7 separate regions of the Homo sapiens genome follow, and regions 2, 3, 4, 5, 6 and 7 are each linked to region 1. The links are contacts of gene promoters, found by promoter capture Hi-C in blood cells and fetal thymus (Javierre and others, 2016). All regions are on one chromosome and are shown on one strand. Each heading gives the region's core, a stretch centred on a gene start or on the middle of the fragment in contact. The rest is flanking DNA. Distances are from core to core; before and after follow the strand shown.

Region 1 (2,700 bases), core at 1-2,500:
TGGATGGACAAAGATAGAAAGGTTGGATAACAGTTTGTGTTGGCAAACAGGCACTCTCTTTGCAGATGGGAATATAGATTGAAGACACCTCCTTGCAGGTAATTTTTTGGCAATATTTGACAAAATTGGAAACTCCCCTTCACCTAGCACAATTTCCTTGAGGTATTTATTCTAAGAAAATAAGCAATTTTAGAGCAAAGATTTATCTACACTGAAGTTTCCCATAGCAATCACAGTATTGTTTCTAATATTAGTAATACAAAAAGAAACAACCTGTATGTCTAACACTAATCGATTCTAATTTATGGTGCAACTGAACAATGGACCAAAATGATGCTGTTGGAAGTTTTTAATGATGTGGAACCGCTTGCAAATTATTAAGCTAAAAGAAAGTAGGTTACAAGATAGCAGGAAGAATAAACCATTAAAAATACCAATCTGTGCACTGACAAATGTTATAAATATTTTACGTTATGTTATGTTATAAACATTTTATAATATAAAAAAATGTTAACTGAAGTTACTTCCTGGATGAATTACAGGTGATTTCATTGTCTTCTAGAATTTTCTTTTCCAAAAATGTTGTGTATGCGTGTAATTATTATTTTAATAGGAGACACTCTCCTTTGGTGATATAATTTAAACAGGACGGTACTGACTGATAACCTCCCGGGGAAGGCAGGGAGCCAAGTACTACAGACTTGTATGTTTCCATGGAAATCTAACGCGCCTTTGATTATCACAGATTCTGGAGAAGAGTGAGGACTTGGGTTCACCAGTGCGTTCCCAAGGACAGGCTGGGCTTCTGAGGAAGTTGCCCACCCTCTCGGAATCTGGTTTGGCCTCCGTAAAATGGGCAGATCCCGCTCGGATGGCCCGGTTCCCGGCTTCCTTTTGCGGGTCAACGGCAGCGTCACGCGCGCGAGCGCGGTCTGCAAAGCCCCCAGCGCTGGGCGTCACGCGGGGATTGCTGTCGCCGCTGCCAGCCGCAGCAGCGACGCGAACTCGGGGCGCCCGGCCCGGGCGCGCGGGGGCGGGGACGCGCACGCGGCGAGGGCGGCGGGTGCGACGGGGGCGGGGACGGGGGCGGGGACGGGGGCGAAGGGGGCGGGGACGGGGGCGCCCCGGCCTAAGCGGGACTAGGAGGGCGCGCCACCCGCTTCCGCTGCCCGCCGGGGAATCCCCCGGGCTGGCGCGCAGGGAAGTTCCCGAACGCGCGGGCATAAAAGGGCAGCCGGCGCCCGCGCGCCACAGCTCTGCAGCTCGTGGCAGCGGCGCAGCGCTCCAGCCATGTCGCGCGGCCTCCAGCTTCTGCTCCTGAGCTGCGGTAGGGCTCGCGAGCGCCTGTCTCGCCTGTCGCCCCCCGCCCCTCCACGACACCCCCTCCCGTCGGTCGCTTGCTCACGACGCGCTCTCTCTTTCTTGTAGCCTACAGCCTGGCTCCCGCGACGCCGGAGGTGAAGGTGGCTTGCTCCGAAGATGTGGACTTGCCCTGCACCGCCCCCTGGGATCCGCAGGTTCCCTACACGGTCTCCTGGGTCAAGGTAGGTGCTGCGATACCCACGGGCTGGGGTTTGGTGGGCTCATTTGAAGACAGCAGGAACCATCTCCCCTAGGCTGGCGACCCTCTGTGGCTGCCAGGTGGGGGCGAGGGGCGTCTCCCGCAGCTGAACTTGGAGTACCCAGCCTCCCGTCGCGCCTCCCCCACCCCATCCGCATCCAGGTACAGGGCCGAATTAGGTTTTGCTCTCCGCAGACCTCAATCCCCTTCCTGTCACTGAAGGTGGCCTGAGATGAATGATCCACTTAAGATGTTTTGGAAGGGCAGAGACTCTCATTTGGATTAATTCTGGAGGCCACCTGTGGTTGTGGGCCAGCAGGTCAGGAAGAAAGCAACAGGGACCTAGATTTGGGCATTGGACAGGGGGAATGTCTCCAGACTTCTGATTTCTTGTGTTTTGTGACTGTGATGCCCATGATACATGGGAGGGGGAGGGGGCAATTTGAAAGGAAAGGCTAAGACACAGAAGTGACTTAGGCCATTTCATCCATGGTAGTTATCAGTGGTCATCTCCTTTGTGGGATACCCTTGGCTTCCTCCCCTAGCCCTCCTCCTCCTTCCTCTGGCAGCCTTGAGAGCATCAGGTGGATGCATGAGCCGGAGCCCGCATGTGTAAGAACAGGCCTTGCTGCTCCTACTGTAAGTGGACTGAGTGACAAGGAGGCTTTTTCAAGGTTTCCTCTTGACTGAAACATTCTCAGATTCTAAGATGGCAATGATGGTGTCATTCCAAAGCCAAGCAGCTACTGTTTGATATCACTGGTCCTTCTTTAAGTCAGGCCACTGCTACCACAGCACCTCCATTTTAACCCAAATGAATATGATATTACAACCTTACTCTGTAGCTCTCACTGATTTGCTGTCTTACCACGGGGGCAAATCTCTGCACTTGTAGCTTTCCCCAAAATGCAGGGCGTTCTTCTGCCCACCATAAAAGATACTATAAGAAACTGTACGTCTTTGGCCACTTAACAGTACAAGGCATCATTGCGGTGATCTCTTTGTGTGTGTGTCTCCTAACTGGATGGTCAGTTCCCTGGGGGGCAGTGGCTGTATCCATACTTCTGTGTATTCTTCACGGCACCTAATTTTTGCCCTATAAATTGCAAAGGTGCTCTGTGAATTCAGCCCAGCACTTC
Region 2 (2,700 bases), core at 158-2,657, 1.5 Mb after region 1:
TGACCAAGATGGAGAAACCCCGTCTCTACTAAAAAAAAAAAAAAATTAGCCAGGTGTGGTGGCGCATGCCTGTAATTCCAGCTTCTCAGGAGGCTGAGGCAGGAGAATCACTTGGACCTGGAGGCAGAGGTTGTGGTGAGCTGAGATCACGCCATTGCACTCCAGCCTGGACAACAAGAGCAAAATTCCATCTCAAAATAAAAAAAGAAAAAGAAAAAAAAAAAAAGGGTCCTAAACAGAACATAACATGAAACTTCCAGAGAGGAAGGAAAATGTTGCTATCTTTGGGGGAAAATGTCCCTCTTTGAAATCCAGTATCAAACCTCTCCAGTAGCATTAGCCGGGCACAATAATTCAAACCTGTAATCCCAGCTACTTGGGAGGCTGAGGCAGGAGGACCTCTTGAGCAATATACCAAAACCCTGTCTGAAAACAAAACAAAACAAAACAAAAAACTATCTCCAGTAGCAATTGTTTCAATTCCTTTGAAACAATTATAGTGCCATTTTTTTTTCTGAGCCAGAATGAAAGACTAGTAATAGTAAAAGGCAGGCAAGAAAAAGAGACCTGCTTCTTAGCCATAGAAAAAACGGGGCCAACACAGCCATGCTAGAGCACTGCCCAGAGAGGGTAGAGAAGGGCTGCAGCAGAGAGGAGGAGCACTGTTTTCTTGTTGCTGACTTCACCATGGTTCTTGCTTACCACCGATGTCAGAGCAGGTATGGCAGGCTGCCAGGTGTGCCTCTGCCTGTCCCAGCTCTCATATCCGTCAAGAAAACCAGAAAAGTGAGAAAAGCATAGGGTAATATCATGGTTTTAGCTACATTCAACTGAAGACTAAAATAACTGATAAATTTTATACTTTTGAAAGTATCTTTGAAAAACACAGTAACTGATGGAACATAAACTCCAACACAACTATGGGTCATAAAAAACATAAAATATTATTCCAAATGTAATAAATGAATTCTAAAACACTGAAAGTTATTACAGACTCTAAATTATAATGTACAAACTATAATCAATCTAACTTTGGAAAAAAGGATTACCTACTTTTCAACCCAGGATAATAATAATTTTGCTTTGCTTAATTTCAAAAAACTTTTCTCGAGATTGCTATATCTTTAGTCTCTGCTCCTCTCCACCTCAAAGATACACTTTAGGTTTTCATGCCTCTTAAAAACAAAAAGCTTGAACCCCAGCGTGTCATTTGCATAACTGGAGGAAAGAGATAACGAAAAGAATTTTGTAAACCAGTTAGAGAGACATTTATTATTTAAAAATGGCAAACAGATACTCATTGTTCAAAATAAAGCTTTATGAACTTAAATATCAGTCCTAAACTCTATTTACTGTCAACCCAAGGATCTAATAAACTGTTAAATATTCTAGCTACATCTGTTCTCGTGACTACACATAAAGTCTGAAACTGCCAAGATTTATTCTCTAACAGACACTTTAGAGCAAAAATTTTGTTAAGTTCAATTCCTTGCCAACTCATAAGCTTAGGTTTAATTTTAAAAGAAAATGTAAGGTGTGATTACACATTTATGAAGCCAACAAATTCATAGCTCTCAGTCTGTTTTCAAGAGGTCATTGGCCTAGTAAATGTGATTACATTATAATAAATACAATAAAATAAAAATGTCAATTTACTTTCAATTAACCACCTGGGAACCATCTAAAATCTAGCATCTAATAGGGAGAGGGGGGAGTAAAAGGAGAAAATGGAGAAAAGAGATACAAGTTTCAGCCTTTTTTATATTTTCCATGTCTCTACTTCACTTTTTGAACAGAATACAGTTACAATAACAATTTTTACTGTCCTTGTCTTCTAATTCTAATATCTGTGTCAGTTTTTAATGGCTTTGATTGACTATCTTCCTCCATATGTTTTCCTAGTAATCTTTGATTAGATACCAGACATTGTGATTTATCTTGTTTGGTGCTAGGTATTTTTATATTCCTATAAATACTCTTGAGCTTTGTTTGTTATACAGTTAATTTACTTGGAAACAGCTTGATTCTTCTGATGCTTGCTTTATGATTTGCTAAGCACGTCTTCAGCAGTATTCAGACAAAAGCCAATTACACATCCTACTGAGGCAAGAATTCACCGAGTCCACTTCCCAATACCTCAGTAATTATGAGTTTTCCCAGTCCGACTATTGGGAAGAGGCTCTGTGTGAGTGCCAGGCACTGTTAGCTCACCCTCTTGGATATTTTTTTCCCTCCTGCCTTGGATAGTTTCCTCACCTGTATTATCAGGTGAATATTCATGGAGACCCTCTCAGAAACTCTCTCCTCTCTGGGACTATGTCCTGTAAACTCCAGCTGCCTTGATCTCCCCAGATTTAGCTCTTCAACTCTGAGTCTGCCAGGCTCTGCCTGGGTCCACTTCCCTGCAGTGCACCCTGGAAACTCTCTCTAGGCAGGATGCAGAGGCAATCACAGGGCTCACCTCACTTGTTTCCTATCTATCGGGTACCATCACATCTCTTCTTTGTCCAAAATCCAGTGTCTTAAAAACATTCTCTCATTTATTTCACCTGGTTTTTCATTGTTTCGGGGGAGAGAATAAATCTGGTCCCTGTTACTCCATCCTGGTGGATGCAGAAGTCTGCTCCCTTTTTGTAAAGTCATTGCCTGCGGAAAAGTTCTCCTGCTCCCCTTTTCATTCAGCATCCAAACAGACTTCTG
Region 3 (2,700 bases), core at 55-2,554, 1.3 Mb after region 1:
TGAATAAAAAACTGTACTGCATATTACTTTTCATACTGTTTGTGCAGGATGTCACCAGCTACCTGAGATTTATATGCACCAAGTCATGTTTTATTTGGGAAAAAGTTCATATCTTGTAGATATTTAGTGCTATTATCTTCGATTTTTTAATTTTTTTCCTCCTCTTTCCTACCCCCCTAATCCTTCCCTGGAATTAAAAAAAAAAAAGATTCACCTTTCTCTCTGATGCCTGTTTTCCACTTTAGTATTCCAAGGGAGTGAAGTGTCTGCGAGCAAGAATGGTGTCTTCCTGATGTGGTGGTGATGTTTGGATTTGCAAGGCTTGCCTTGTCCTTGGGCTGGCTTCTTCATGGATAGAGCTGATGAATATATTTTTAAGTAGTTATGTCAGCGTTCCTAAGGGTGACTCACAGTTCTGAAGTAAGTTAACGTGTTGCCTAAATGAGTTACTCCTCATTGGAAGGGCTAAGTGGAAGGAAATGCAGATTACAGATTGTATTGCTACTATTTAATCTTTAAGGGAGTAGGGGAGTGGATTTTTGGAATTGTGATATCTTTCTAAAATATATATGAATGAATTTTTCACCTTCCCCTCCACCTTCTAAAGTGCTAGGTGGTAGTACTAGCACTTTAAAAGTCAGTATATTTTGCTGTTTTACTGGCAGTTAGAAAGTTGGCGCTAGAAATCTTTAGCAATACTGACAGTTTGGAGATTTAGATTTTACTTCTCCAAAATAATCAGGACTTTTCATCTACTCTTACGAAATGATAGATCCAAAAGATTTATTACAGAAATTACTACATTCAGGTACCACTTGTTTTTTTAAGAGGAGGTCAAAGATCACAGAAGCTTGGAGCTAGAGAGAGCCTTAGCTTCCCTTTTTAAAATAGTCCTTAAAAAAACCACCTAAGAAAAAAAGACCCAGCTTGCCCTAGGTGACAAGTTAGGTGAACTAAACTCAGGTTTTGTGACACCACTACTCTTTTGCTTGTACCACTGACCAAGCAAAACATCATAATGTTTCATCTTGAGGGGAATTCAACTAACAAAAGATTTCTTTACGCAAATTCCGGCTATGGCAAATGTTTATTCTAAATAGCTTCCTATGTAACTTAATTAAGACAAGTGCTGCAAATATTTAATATCCTGCGGTTTTTTGCATAAACAAAGTGTTCCATCAGTTTATGTGTAAAGCAAGAAATGAGGCTGTGGACCACTAGGGCTCCATCTCCAGAAGTACCATAAAGCAGGCATTCTGCGTAGGATAACTCTGCTTACAGAGCCAGCTGACCTCCCGTTTTGTCATTGTGTGATGCCCTCCCATTCTGGTAAATCAAACCCTGACCGTTTAAAACTGTGGGAACTGGGTGGACCTTGCGCTTAGAAGGATATGGTCTATGCTAGTGCCTCTCATTACAGAGTTTGCTATGAATTGGTCTCTGCTAGCCTCTGGGTTCACTTGAGGATGTGTTTATTTTCTCTTTACTGTTCAGGATGTTTACAACCATTCTGTGTGGTTTGCTCGCAACCGCACTTGCATTTGAATTTGGTGGGCAGCTTGCCCTGGGTAGAGGGTATCCCTTGCCCGACCCCCCACAACCTCCAGTGCGCACACACACGGGCACACTCTTGTTTCTTTGAGTGGCTGCCAGGTTTGTAGTGTGTGTGTCTGGGGGGCGAATGGAGTGGGTAATTATTTTGGGGATGGAAACACAGGAAATTTTTTTTTTTTTTGAATAGGCCTTTCAGCAAGTTGGCAAAGCTTCAGGGCCAGCTCCCACACCGGCACAAAGAGCGCAGCCATGCCGGTCATTTTGCATTTGCCAGACACGAACTGTCTGATTTTTTTTTTTTTTTTTTTTTTGAATGAACAGACCCTCCCTCCCACCCTTTCCTTGCCCTTTGTTTAGAATTGGGATGTAATCTAAATAATTGGATTTACCAGCTTACGTTTTTAATATTGGAAAATTGAGTTAATAAAATGATGTTTTGGCATGTACTTCCCTCAGCAAGGGAACAGCTGTGCATTCACTTTAAGCCGCCTGGTCCCCCTTGCTCCTGCTTGATCCAGCTGATTTGTGTGTCACGCCATGCCCTTCTTGGGTTTGCAGGCTATCAGAAATCCTGGACAGAAATAGGATTTAATTAACCTGGAAATTGCTGTTGTGCCGCAGTCAGGGCTACCCTAGAGATTGAGTGCACAGATAGCAATAAGCTGGTTAACTCTACACTGTTGATGACCCCAGAGGAAACCTGGAGAAACAGTGCCACCCTTGTGTGAAGCTTCTAATGGCAGGATGCCCAGGAAGCTTCTAAATCAATCATTTGGGGAGGAAGGGGCACAGGGAGGGTATTACAAAAGAAAAAAGTATTTGGCATAGGACTGTTAGTTCATCCCTGGGGTTTCTTTACAAGCATGGTCTCGTGATTTATTGGTTAACTTTCCAAATAATGTTAGTGTGTATCTTGCTGTGCTCCTTCGTTCTCATAAAGGTGCTATATATTTTATTTTAACAACAAACAATGAAGATTGATTTTGGTAAATTTTTAAGCGGTGATACCTAACAGCAAGTGAGAGGTGGCTGTGGGAGGCTTAGCAGAAAAAGAAAGTCACCTTCCATGTAGCTTAGGGAGTGGATGGATGGGGAAAGGACAATAGGGATCTTTCCCCCTTCGAGCTCATGCAGCTTGATCAGGAA
Region 4 (2,700 bases), core at 61-2,560, 1.3 Mb after region 1:
AATCAGCAAAAGGCTTAACATTTCTCTTAACCCTTGATTTATATTTAGAAGCTTCCACTGATCAGGTTATTTGGAGTTTATTTTGTTCTTACAACCTGGAGATATATTTTATAAATAAGAGAAGTACTAGTTTAATTTTCAACTTTAGAGTTATCATGGGTGAAATGTACTCTCTACTACAGAAAGTAAAGAAAAATTGAGTAATAGATTATGATGTGGCAGTTTTGAACACAAAAGATGTGGAAGTAAATATAAAGTAAATATGGGTAAATCTCGCCTATCTTCTGTTTCAAGTTATCTACGTAGTTGCCATTTTTGTTTCTAGTATCATTTGCATTTGCTTTTGCTTGAAGGATTTTAACATTTCTAACATTAGGTCTGCTGTTGATCATTCAGCTTTTGTATGTCTGGGAAGATCTCATTTCACCCACATTAAAAAAATACTTTTATGATAATTGTAGAATTACATGCAGTTATACAAAATACACCTTCATTTCTTATAGATATTTTTGCTGGGTATAAAATTTTAGGTTAATAGTCATTCACCATCAGTACTTCAGTGACACTGCCCCACTGTCCCGATGTGCATCATTTCTGATGAGAATCCTGTTGTTATTTTCATAGCTTTGTAGGAGCAATCATTTACCACAATTTTCTTTTGAATCCCTTACTGGTTTTAGGCAATTTGATACGATGTGCCTTGGCAGTTTTTATTTCCAGAGTTTGAGATTCATTGAGTGTATTAGGTTTGTAGATTTCATTTACTATGGAAAAATTAGAGCCATTATTATTTCAAATATTTTCGTGTGCATTCGTCTCCCCTTTGGGGACCTAATTTTCATATATATTACTCTGAAGTTGTCCCATAGCTCATGTGTTTTGTTCCTTTTTTGATCTGTATGTTGCATTTTAGATAGTTTATACCCTAAATCTGCTGGTAAGACTATTGAATATATCTTTTATCTCAGACATTGTTATTATATTTTAGAAGTTACAGCTGGGCACGCCTGTAATCCTAGCACTTCGGGAGGCCGAGGCGGGTGGATCACCAGGTCAGGAGTTCAAGACCTTCCTGGCCAACATGGTGAAACCCTGTCTCTACTAAAAATACAAAAATTAGCTGGGCGTGGTGGTGCGCATCTGTAATCCCAGCTACTCAGGAGGCTGAGGCAGGAGAATTGCTTGAACCCAGGAGGCGGAGGTTGCAGTGAGCCAAGATCACACCACTGCACTACAGCCTGGGTGACAGAGCAAGACTCCATAAAAAAAAAAAAAAGAAGTTAGATTTTGGTCTTTCCATAATCTTCAGTGTCTCTAGTAATATGCTTATTCTTTGGTGTTTCTTGAACATGTGGAGTACAGTTACAAGAGATATTTGAGTATATGTGCTATTTTTGTCTTCCATTATTTACAAAACAGTTTTGATTGATTAATCTTCCTCCTCATCAGTCATATTTTCCTGCATCTTTGCATGTCTGGTAGCTTTTTATTACTTGACAGACACTAAATTTTTCTCTGGCTGTGGGAAATGTTCGTATTTCTCTACATATTCTTGAGCATTGTTCTGAGATCTGATTATTAGGGAACAGTTTGATCTGTTTGGATCTTGGTTTCAAGCATGGTTAGGTAGGGCCAAAGCAGTGTTTACTGTGAGGCATTGTTTCCCTGCTACTCAGGCAAAAACCCTTACGAGTATTTTACTTGATGTCCTATGGATTATGTTTACCATGTAGGCTAGTAAGAATGGGCACTATTCCTGGTGCTTTTACAATTTGGATACTGTTCCTGCTAATCCTTTCTGGAAATACTTTCTCTTGGGTAGCTTCCTAACACAAATGTGCTTGTTAGTACTCAGCGGAAGACATGAGGAGCGCCTTTGGCAGATTCCATTGTTGTCTGTGTGGCTCTGGCCTCTGCTGTGCTCTGCCTTACACATTATATCACCTTGGCCTCCCCTTGTGTTTCTCAACCCCGGCTCTGCTTGCCCTTTCCGTAACTGCTGCAGCCTGGACATTCTCTCAGGGCAGTGAGCTGGAGGGATCATTTGTTTTCCATCCGTCAGGGATCACAGTATGTTGCTATATGGTGGCCGTTGTTTTGTGTGGATTTTTAGTTCTTTCAGACAGGCAAGAGGTATAAATCCTGTCTAGCTTCACTAAAAGCGGAAGTTCTTTCTGTTCTTTGAATGTTGAATGAGAGTGTGAGAGAGACACGTACCATCAGGAAATGGAACTAGCCACGGTCATAGCTTTTCATTTAGTTTTGTTAGTCTTTAAAAAAAAAAAAAGGTGAACAGCGTAAGTAAGCCCTGACTCCAAGAAAAAAAATTCAAAATTAATAAACATAAGCATTCGGCCTATAATAAAAATAGTAAACTCCATTCCATAATAAAGCCTGTGACTATTAGAAGTCCTTCTTTGAAGCTATGTAATCTGTCTCTTCCGTTAGGAAGAACTGACCTTAGCCTAGATAATATTGTGCTAAAAATTTTTACCTTAATTCTTTTGAAATACCTGTTTTTAAGGTTTTACCACCCTCACTTGGCAGCTGAGTTAATAGGATTTGGATCTAAGCTTTCACATCTATAATGCCTGGACTTTGCCACTGTACCATGTCACCTTCCATAAGTTGTAGCAAATGTAGGTCTGAATTTTCAGGTGTGTGCATCTGGACAGCAGTTGGCTTGGTGAGCTGTACTGG
Region 5 (2,700 bases), core at 162-2,661, 1.5 Mb after region 1:
GACAGTCTGCTACTAGAACGAGAGTAAGGATCTTACTTGCTATCTGGTTTGTTCTCTGCTATATCCCCAGTACCTAAAATAGTGCCTGCCACATAGTAAGCACTCAATAAATATTTGACAAATTAATTAAGCAAAGCATTGAAGATATTCTATTATTAGGCACTAAACTTCCTTTCCAGCTTCATCTCCCAGGACTGCTTCCATCTCTGAAATGTGCTTATCCAAATCTATCGCAATTTCTCCTCATTATTCAAGGCCTAGTTTTAGAAACCCCTTCCTCTTTGAAGCCTTCTGTAAATGCATCCTAACTAATGACTCTTTCTTCGGACTCACATACCACACTATTTGTATCTTTAACATTCTGTTCATTCTGCTTTGCTTTATATCAGCACCAGTCTAGGGCATCTGGTGGACAGAGACTGTTTTAGACACCTTTGTACCTGCAGGATCTGGCCCAATATATAGACATTGTTTAGGAAAGACTAGGCAAACCTGAGCATATGGGCTCTCAAATCTTTTTTAAGCTTCTATGAAAAAGGACACTTTGAGTGCCTAGTCTAATGTCTGGCACTGGCACTTAATAGGAACTCTGTAGATATTTATGAAATCAAGTTGAATACTGAGATTATTTTCTCTTTAAGATGATGATTAATCCCGGAAAAGTCAACATTTCAAGCAACACTTCACCATTTGACCACATTGTAATTTAGATGACTGGCTCCAACCCCCTTTGTGTAGGTTTTGGTAGATACTACAAGGACGGAAGAAGACAGAATGAGGACACTGGGCAGGGGTGCAGGTGGGCGGCAGGGGCAGTGAGGGCTTTGAGGGGGAAACACCCTCTAGCTGCAACAATAGCAGGTTTTTTTATCCCCAACCACAGGAACCCAGTGCATCACAAATAGGAAACACCAGCCTGTGACAGGCAGCTGTAAACCCGTCAGTAAATCTGATTTTCAGTTCCCTGAAGGGTTTGCATGCCTAAATACCTCAATCCTGAGGCCTTTGGTCGTAACAGCTCAAAAGGTAAAAGTCAAAGACCAGAGTGGCTTCGAAGTATGTACTTTGGTATGTCCAAAAGTCTTCCCCAGAGCTCAAGCCAATCTCTGTAAAAATGGATATTTTATGTGAACTCTCCAAAAGGCTCCAAGAATTCTGACTCAGTTAAATCAAATTACAACTCACTTTAGGTGAGGGGAAAAGATCTTTGAGTGAAGCTCAGAACCAATCCTCTTCAGTCTGTGGCCTAAGGCTGGCCCACCACCCAATTAAGGCAGGAAGAATGTGATGTAATCACTAGTTTTTCTCAAGGTTGACATAATTGTTACTACGCATAAAAATTTACAAAAAAGGCCATAAGTCCATGGACAACCTAGAGCTCCCCCCAAACCACCAGTAATCTCTACACTGCCCTTAAAGAACAATGGTCTTAAGCTGCACTTTTTCAAAGTTTGAATGGAATGTAGAAATTTATTCTTATTGGACATGGTTTCATCACCAAAGTGACATTCTGAGACTGATAAGGAATCGTTCTATTTTACTAAAAATGAAAAAAAGTAAATTTATCTAGAGTTAGGGCCTTCATATGAGTTTTCAGAAAGTGAAAATGATCACAGAAGCTCCGAAGAGAGGATGCTGCTCTGGGCGACAGCGGGAGCTGCACTGGCTGCACTGAAGGAGCCCAGAAATGCCTGAGGCCTTCCATTCCATCCCTGGGGCAGCCTGCACACCCGGTGTTTCCAATTATTTTAGAAGGCAGCTGCTCTGGCTTCCACACAATTGCTCTGCCACCAAGTGTTCTACAGAAACGCCAGGTCCAATGTGATAGCTCTGGGTGGCCAGGGCCATGTTTTTTCATTTTTTCTTTCTTTTTTAAGAGATGGGGTTTCTTTCTTTTTTTTTTTTTTTGAGACGGAGTCTCCCTCTGTCACCCAGTCTGGAGTGCAGTGGTGTGATCTCGGCTCACTGCAACCTCCACCTCCTGGATTCAAGAGATTCTTCTGCCTCAGCCTTCCAAGTAGCTGGAATTACAGACGCACGCCACCATGGCCAGCTAATTTTTGTATTTTTTAGTGGAGACGGGGTTTCACCACGTTGGCCAAGCTGGTCTTGAACTCCTGACCTCATGATCCGCCTGCTTCGGGCTCCCAAAGTGCTGGGATTACAGGTGTGAGCCACCGCACCCAGCCAAAAGATGGGGTTTCTTTGTGTTGCCCAGTCTTGAACTCCTGGGCTCAAGGGATCCTCCTGCCTCAGCCTCCCAAGTAGCTGGGACAACAAAATTGTTGGAAGATTCCATAAAGCTTCCCCATGTGGCCCTTTAACAGTCGTCTGTTTTAAAAATTGGTTTTTAAACAGATTTAATGTGTGAAACTTATCTGATCTGGATTTGAACAAACCAACTGTAAAAAGTCATTTCTAAGCACAAAACAAATCTGATTATGGACTGCATAATTGATAATATCAAAAAATTAGTGTTAATTTTATTATCTATGATATCAGCATTGCATTTATGTAATATGTTTCTTTTTTAGTGATGCAGCTCACGTCTCTTTCATCTTTGAATTCCACATTACCAACATATAATAAACACATGTGTGCTGTGTTTAGCGTCATCTTTTCTCCTCAAGGCAAAAATAATCAGTTATGTAAAGGAGGTTGATCTCAAGCTGAATATGGAAAAGTTTAACCGAACAGCTT
Region 6 (2,700 bases), core at 122-2,621, 1.1 Mb after region 1:
GGGCGCGGGGAGGGGAGAGCGCGCGGGGAGGGGGTGGGAGCGGGGGCGGGGGCGTGGGCGTGCCGGGGAGGGGGCGCGCGGCGCACAGCTGCAGCGGGCGCCCCCCACCGCGCACACGGCCGAGCATGGCGGCGGCGGCCCGGCCGGCTTCCCGCGGCCCTGCCTGCGGGCTCCGACGCAGTCTCGAGAGCAACAGGTTAAGCCGGCGAGACGTCAGCGCGCCCCCTCTCCGCCCCCCGGTTCTTCCCCCGCCGCGCGCCGGCGCCCCAGCCCTTCTTCCCTCCCTCCGCCCCCCGCGGCGCTCGGTTCCCCGACGCTCCCGGCCGCACTCTGTTGTCATTGTGACGTCACAAAGGGACGGGCTCGGGTGGAACCTTCCCCTCCTCCTCCGTGACGTCAAAAGTCGGGCGGGAGGCTCCAGGCGCGGCGGGGCGGCGGGGGGAGGAGGGAGCTGGGCGGGGGCGGGGGCTGCCGCAGAGCCGGGCTGCGGCGTGGGAGGAGGAAGAGGAGGAAGATGCGCTCGGCCTCTGCCTTCCGCTCCGGAGCGTCGCGCTTCCCACCAGGTGAGGGCCGGGGAGCCGTAGGTCCCCAAAGGAGTGCCACTGGACCCTGTTCTGATGCCACTTGGGAAGCGGGGAGCGGGGAGGAGGCGCCTCCTTTCTGCAGGAATGTTTTCACTTCCTCTGTTCCAGGTCTCCTGATGGTGTTGCATTACTAGCGTGGTGCATGTGTCCCCTCTCCAGTGCTTATGTAAAGAAATGAAAGTATTCAGGGAAAGCTGTGCTTTGTTGGAGGACCGCGTTGTGGATTTGGCCACCTTGTCACTTGAAGTCGTGTTAGGGGTGCTTCAGCAGGATGTGGCCGGATGCCTTTCATGATGATGCTGCACAGCAGCAACTGTTGCTCTTTCTGGAAGCTTTGTGGTACTACGGTGGGGGGGCTTTCCTTTGCTGTGCCGGCTCTGTACCTACTGACTGTTATTTTGGGGGGCTGGACCAAAGGAAGACTTGTCATTGATAAATGTACTGAGAAGAGCACAGGACTCCTTTAAGTCTCAAGGTGCTCTGGGCTTAGTTCTTCTGAGCAGGGAAACCAGAGGCTGGCGTTCTGTTTTCTCTTTTGTAAAATGGAAAAATACCTGCCATTGCCACTTAACTAAGTCACTGAAAAGATCATGTGCATGGAAGATGTAAAACAGTATGCCTCTTTATAAGTAAGGTGGCATTATTACTTGAGCTGGTGGAAGGCAGCACGTTTCCCACAATTGGTCTCAAAAGCCCGGGATGCCTGCTGAGTTGCCATTTAGTTTATTACCTTAGCAAAGCAGAGTTGGGGGTGCGATTGTCGATAGTAGGCTTTGGGAGAAATGATTGTTATATTTCGTAATAAATGATGTCCTTGAGAAACTCATAAGTTGCAGTGTAATCCTGTCTTAATTGTGTTGAGCACGACTCCCACTGCAATACCTTAAATAACTGAAAACATTTGCCTTTGAAAGCCCCAATCGACTTGGACAATAAAAACAGTTGCATGTTTTGCTCTAGAGATATTTTCTGCCGTTTCCATCATTCCACTGCCTGGTTATTCCTAGGGAGAATAACAGATAGGATACTGGGGCTTCACCACTATTTGATCAGGTATCAGTTTGAAATAGAGAATCTCTGCCTTATGAAGATAGTAATTCCTGTAGTTAGCATGAAAACAAATTGCCAGTTTGATTTTCTAGGACAGCTCAAGCAGAATTTGTACCACTAGGCTGTAAGTTTTAAGTATCTAATTTTCTGATTTGAAAGTGTATGATTTAAAAATTGGAAAAAGTTTTTGTTATAAGCTTCAAAAGGATTTACTATAATTACAACTACGTAAAATTACAAAGAAAAAAGTAGGAAGAACACAAAATATACAGTGGTTGGATTTATGAGGTTTTTTGTTTTAAAACTTATTCATCACAAATTGTTCAGTCACGTTATTTTACAGTTGGTGGGGTGGTGGGGAAATTTGCACGTTATTTTATTGCTGTATTTTTTCTTTCCTGGGATGTTTACGTGGCTTTTCAGTTACTTGTTTCTAGTAGTGGAAAATCTTGCTCTGTGTTACTTAGGTGCAGGGCAGTGGCAGTTTAGCTCCTATCACTGTACAGGGACAGTATGGAAGGAAGACACAATGAAGTCCAAAGTGTCACTAAAATTTGAAAGAAAAATTATGTCGACAAGTAATCCAACTTGGTTTATTATCCAGGTTATATTATTTTACAGTAGGCTAATACCTAACTTGTGTGTCCCTGTAGCCACTGGCCCAAATAGACAACTAGAATTATTTGGTACTCGGTAATGCCTGTTTCCTCATAGTGGGTTAAACCAGTCCCTGTTGCTGGGCTGAAGGCTATTGACGCACTTCCAAGTGCCTTGGAAATAACTCCAGTGTTAATATATACCGTACTCCAAATGTTAAACTTTCCTCCTTCAGAACAAGACAATCTTTTGGAGTATATAATTGGTGTCTGTTACCTTCAAAATGGAACTTTTTTTTTTTTTTCAGAGAAGACACGAGAATGTCATATTAAAAGCGTAGTTCGTTAAAACACTTGGTGAAGGCTAACCTAGAGAGCATTTGTTTTTTTGTTTCCTTTTTTTTTTGAGACAGGGTCTTGCTCAGCCACCCAGGCTGGAACGCAGTGGTTCCTCACTGCAACCACTGTCT
Region 7 (2,700 bases), core at 104-2,603, 1.2 Mb after region 1:
AGTGGAGATTAGGTGCTCTAATAGGCACAACTGTGCCCCTTTCATTGTAGGCATTCTCTTCCACCTGTATATTAGTATTGCTTCTAGCTGCGTGATCGAGGGTTTGGGTTAATGCTGACATATTGCAACTTACTGGATGGCAAACAGTTAAGTTGTCTTCTTTGGCTGTGGGGAGAGATGGTGAATTCAACACTCTGAAACTCTGAACACAGTGTCCAAAGAGACCCTGGGCTTCCTGGAGTGTTATTCTCTTACTCTCCTAAACTATTCTCCCACTCCCATGAAAAAGAAAATCTTAAAGCGGCTTATCAGTATCTGACATAAGACAGAGTGAGGCCTTTCCTTTTATCTACATAGAGATAGCTCAAAGATCTGCTTGAGGGGCAGCAAAAGGCATGTCAGCAACCACCAGGAAAGGATCCTGAAGCCTAACCAACTGGTTATAAACAGCAGTAGGTGCCCAGGAGGGAACCGATACCTTCTGCAAGAGCATCAGTTGTGAAATGGCCTAGGTACAAGGATGTTCTTAGAATCAGGTTTCAAATTATAGTAACATGTAGACAGACTCTGAATGCTCTGGGAATGGAGTAAGCTGGTTCTAGTGAATTTTCTGGTTGACTGTTTCAAGCCATGGCATTAACTCCTTATGAAGGATATTTTTTGGCTGTCCTGTCTTCAGAAGTCCGGTGTGACGCGCGAACTCAATGGTTGCGTTCCCGAGGACCTTATGGAGTGCTTCCTGTCTGTCTGCCAGTGCTTTGTTACTGTGCACCTCTGTAGATATGCAGTAGGGGGTTTTTGGGTGGTGTGCATGCTGATCCCCAGAGGGTTTATATTTTACCTGCACTCCTGAGGATGTGTTTGTGTTGCTTGGGGCCCTGAGAAAAAACTGCATTCAGCGGAGGATTTAGTAAGAAGAAAGTTGGTTCCATGAAGTGTACATCAGCAGCCCCCGAGGATGCTGTGGGGTTGCAACTCCTAAGGCTTAACTGCGGCGGGGATCGGTTAATAGTATGGACAACCCCACACCCCAGAACAGGGGATAGGTGATGGACGACAGTGGGACACCATACCTAATGTGCATGCCTGCTTCCTAGAAATTGTGATAGTGTGGTGACTCTTTCCTTCTCTGAAAAGACCAAACCCCATCACTTAATATGGAAATTTAAAACCAAACCTCCAAACCCTTCTGACAGCATTTTTGACCAAATTGGCTTTTCGTAAGGGTAGAGCTAGATTTTCCGAAGAGCTTTAAAAACACAGCCTAGAAGCTTATCTTTGTGAACTTTTGCTGTTGTCAACAGTGGATATCTTGCTGCTGCTAATAGAAAACAAAAAAGTTCATTTGCCAAAATGCTTGTCATTTCCTCCTGAGGAGTGCAGCTTAACGCCAGGACTTCATTTAGTCAGAGGGAAATGGTTGCTACCTCCCTGTTAAGCTTCTTTCCATTATCCAGTTATGGCAGAATGAGTGTTGGGGCGGCCTGGGGAGATGGGGGTAAAATAAAGGAACAGCTAAGAAGTGGTTCTGCAGAATGTGTACTTATATCCGAAAGCCTGGATGGAAAGGACGGTGGCTTTGGAAGGGGTGTAAAATGGGAGGGGGTGGCAATCGCTGAAGCATGACAAGCCTCCGAAGGCCTCTGGGACTTGAACACAAAAAAGGGAGCTTTTTGCAGCTCTTTCACATGCACACGTCTCCCTCTGCCCCATCCATCCTCCCCTGCTGTTTTGTAAATCTCCCAGTTGGAAATTTTTAACATGGGAGAGCTTCTTCCTGTGCTTCAGTTGGCAGAATGCTCACACGCAGCTGCAAAGAATTTGCTTTTCCTTTTCACAGCATCTCTCATTTAAAAGCATTAGTGAGACTACAGAACAAAATAAAAACTTCAGGATTTTTCAGAAGTGGAAGCCAAGTTTAATTAAAGTCAAGGAAGTTCGGGGCTCTAACTCTTTTGTTAAACCTCTTAAAGTCAGGCGTGTGCGTGTGCCCATGGCAGGCAAGGTAGGAAATGCCAGTGCCTGTTTCTCGTTAGGAAATTTAAAGGCCTACTTGTCTGGTGTGTGCTTGGGGAATGTCCTAGAATTTATCAAAAGATGTGCTGAACCATCATGTCTTTGGTGGCCTCAAAATGCTTGCCAGTGGTGAGGTAGTTGCCCCTTTCTTGAGGGAGGAGGAAAACCGTTAAATAGCTTTCTGTCTCCTCCCAGGCCTCTGTAAAACCTCCTAATCTGAGTGCCCTGTTCCCTGTGCTCCACCCTTAGTCCCTAGACCAGGCCACTGGGCTGTGAGCATTCTTGTTGGGGGGGGCGGAAAGAAGTTTCTGACTCGATAACTGCCTCCTAAAGTTGGATTTTTAATCTTTCAATAGTATTTGAACCTTCAGCATTTTTTACATTTTATTTTAAGAGACAGGGTCTGTTGCCCAGGCTGGCGTGTGGTGGTGTGATCACAGCTTATTACTGCATCCTTGAACTCTTGGGCTCAAGAGATCCTCCTGCCTTCCCTGCCCCACCCCCTAGTAGCTGGGACCACAGGTGCATGACACCACACTTGGCTAATTTTTAATTTTTTTTTGTAGAGATGGCTATTTTAAAATTTTTTTTTTTTTTTTTTGGTAGAGATGGGGTCTAGCATTGTTTCCCAGGTTGGGTATGAACTCCTAGCCTCAATCATCCCACCTCAGCCTCCCAAAGTGA

Evidence for each region. Contacts are between HindIII fragments. The CHiCAGO score rates a contact against its expected background, and 5 or more counts as called.
Region 2: a fragment that was not itself captured here is called in contact with the fragment with the promoter of CD83 in region 1 in 1 of 17 cell types (fetal thymus); the score reaches 5.3 in fetal thymus.
Region 3: a contact is called between a fragment that was not itself captured here and the fragment with the promoter of CD83 in region 1, in 1 of 17 cell types (naive B cells). The highest score is 5.6, in naive B cells.
Region 4: a contact is called between a fragment that was not itself captured here and the fragment with the promoter of CD83 in region 1, in 2 of 17 cell types (naive B cells and fetal thymus). The highest score is 5.9, in naive B cells.
Region 5: a fragment that was not itself captured here is called in contact with the fragment with the promoter of CD83 in region 1 in 1 of 17 cell types (naive B cells); the score reaches 5.7 in naive B cells.
Region 6: a contact is called between a fragment that was not itself captured here and the fragment with the promoter of CD83 in region 1, in 5 of 17 cell types (fetal thymus, total B cells, total CD8 T cells and 2 more). The highest score is 9.3, in fetal thymus.
Region 7: a fragment that was not itself captured here is called in contact with the fragment with the promoter of CD83 in region 1 in 1 of 17 cell types (fetal thymus); the score reaches 8.9 in fetal thymus.

What each region holds. Positions count from the first base shown.
Region 1 is chr6:14,116,522-14,119,221 of GRCh38, forward strand. CD83 (CD83 molecule) reads left to right here and starts at 1,251. Exons shown (of 5, transcript NM_004233.4): 1 at 1,251-1,327; 2 at 1,429-1,544. The coding sequence starts at 1,291. RefSeq lists silencers at 577-871, 999-1,118 and cis regulatory regions at 614-1,522, 862-1,678, 862-1,517, 1,683-2,183, 1,754-2,580 and 1 more. The HindIII fragment of the contact is 8,136 bases long and covers 1-2,700 here.
Region 2 is chr6:15,601,652-15,604,351 of GRCh38, forward strand. The region is part of intron 6 of DTNBP1 (dystrobrevin binding protein 1); the gene reads right to left. Among named protein-coding and RNA genes, the nearest start is that of DTNBP1-AS1, 57 kb to the left of the region's middle. The HindIII fragment of the contact is 189 bases long and covers 1,314-1,502 here.
Region 3 is chr6:15,442,893-15,445,592 of GRCh38, forward strand. The region is part of intron 3 of JARID2 (jumonji and AT-rich interaction domain containing 2); the gene reads left to right. Among named protein-coding and RNA genes, the nearest start is that of DTNBP1-AS1, 100 kb to the right of the region's middle. RefSeq lists an enhancer at 1,632-2,132. The HindIII fragment of the contact is 913 bases long and covers 849-1,761 here.
Region 4 is chr6:15,419,138-15,421,837 of GRCh38, forward strand. All of the region lies in intron 3 of JARID2 (jumonji and AT-rich interaction domain containing 2), which reads left to right. Among named protein-coding and RNA genes, the nearest start is that of DTNBP1-AS1, 130 kb to the right of the region's middle. The HindIII fragment of the contact is 2,522 bases long and covers 50-2,571 here.
Region 5 is chr6:15,657,663-15,660,362 of GRCh38, forward strand. All of the region lies in intron 1 of DTNBP1 (dystrobrevin binding protein 1), which reads right to left. Among named protein-coding and RNA genes, the nearest start is that of DTNBP1, 4.0 kb to the right of the region's middle. The HindIII fragment of the contact is 1,779 bases long and covers 523-2,301 here.
Region 6 is chr6:15,248,402-15,251,101 of GRCh38, forward strand. All of the region lies in intron 1 of JARID2 (jumonji and AT-rich interaction domain containing 2), which reads left to right. It overlaps JARID2-AS1 (JARID2 antisense RNA 1), which reads right to left and starts at 295. Exons shown (of 2, transcript NR_120502.1): 1 at 109-295. RefSeq lists a silencer at 41-520 and an enhancer at 709-1,550. The HindIII fragment of the contact is 915 bases long and covers 915-1,829 here.
Region 7 is chr6:15,266,974-15,269,673 of GRCh38, forward strand. The region is part of intron 1 of JARID2 (jumonji and AT-rich interaction domain containing 2); the gene reads left to right. Among named protein-coding and RNA genes, the nearest start is that of JARID2-AS1, 20 kb to the left of the region's middle. RefSeq lists enhancers at 394-952, 953-1,510, 1,511-2,069, 2,070-2,627. The HindIII fragment of the contact is 168 bases long and covers 1,270-1,437 here.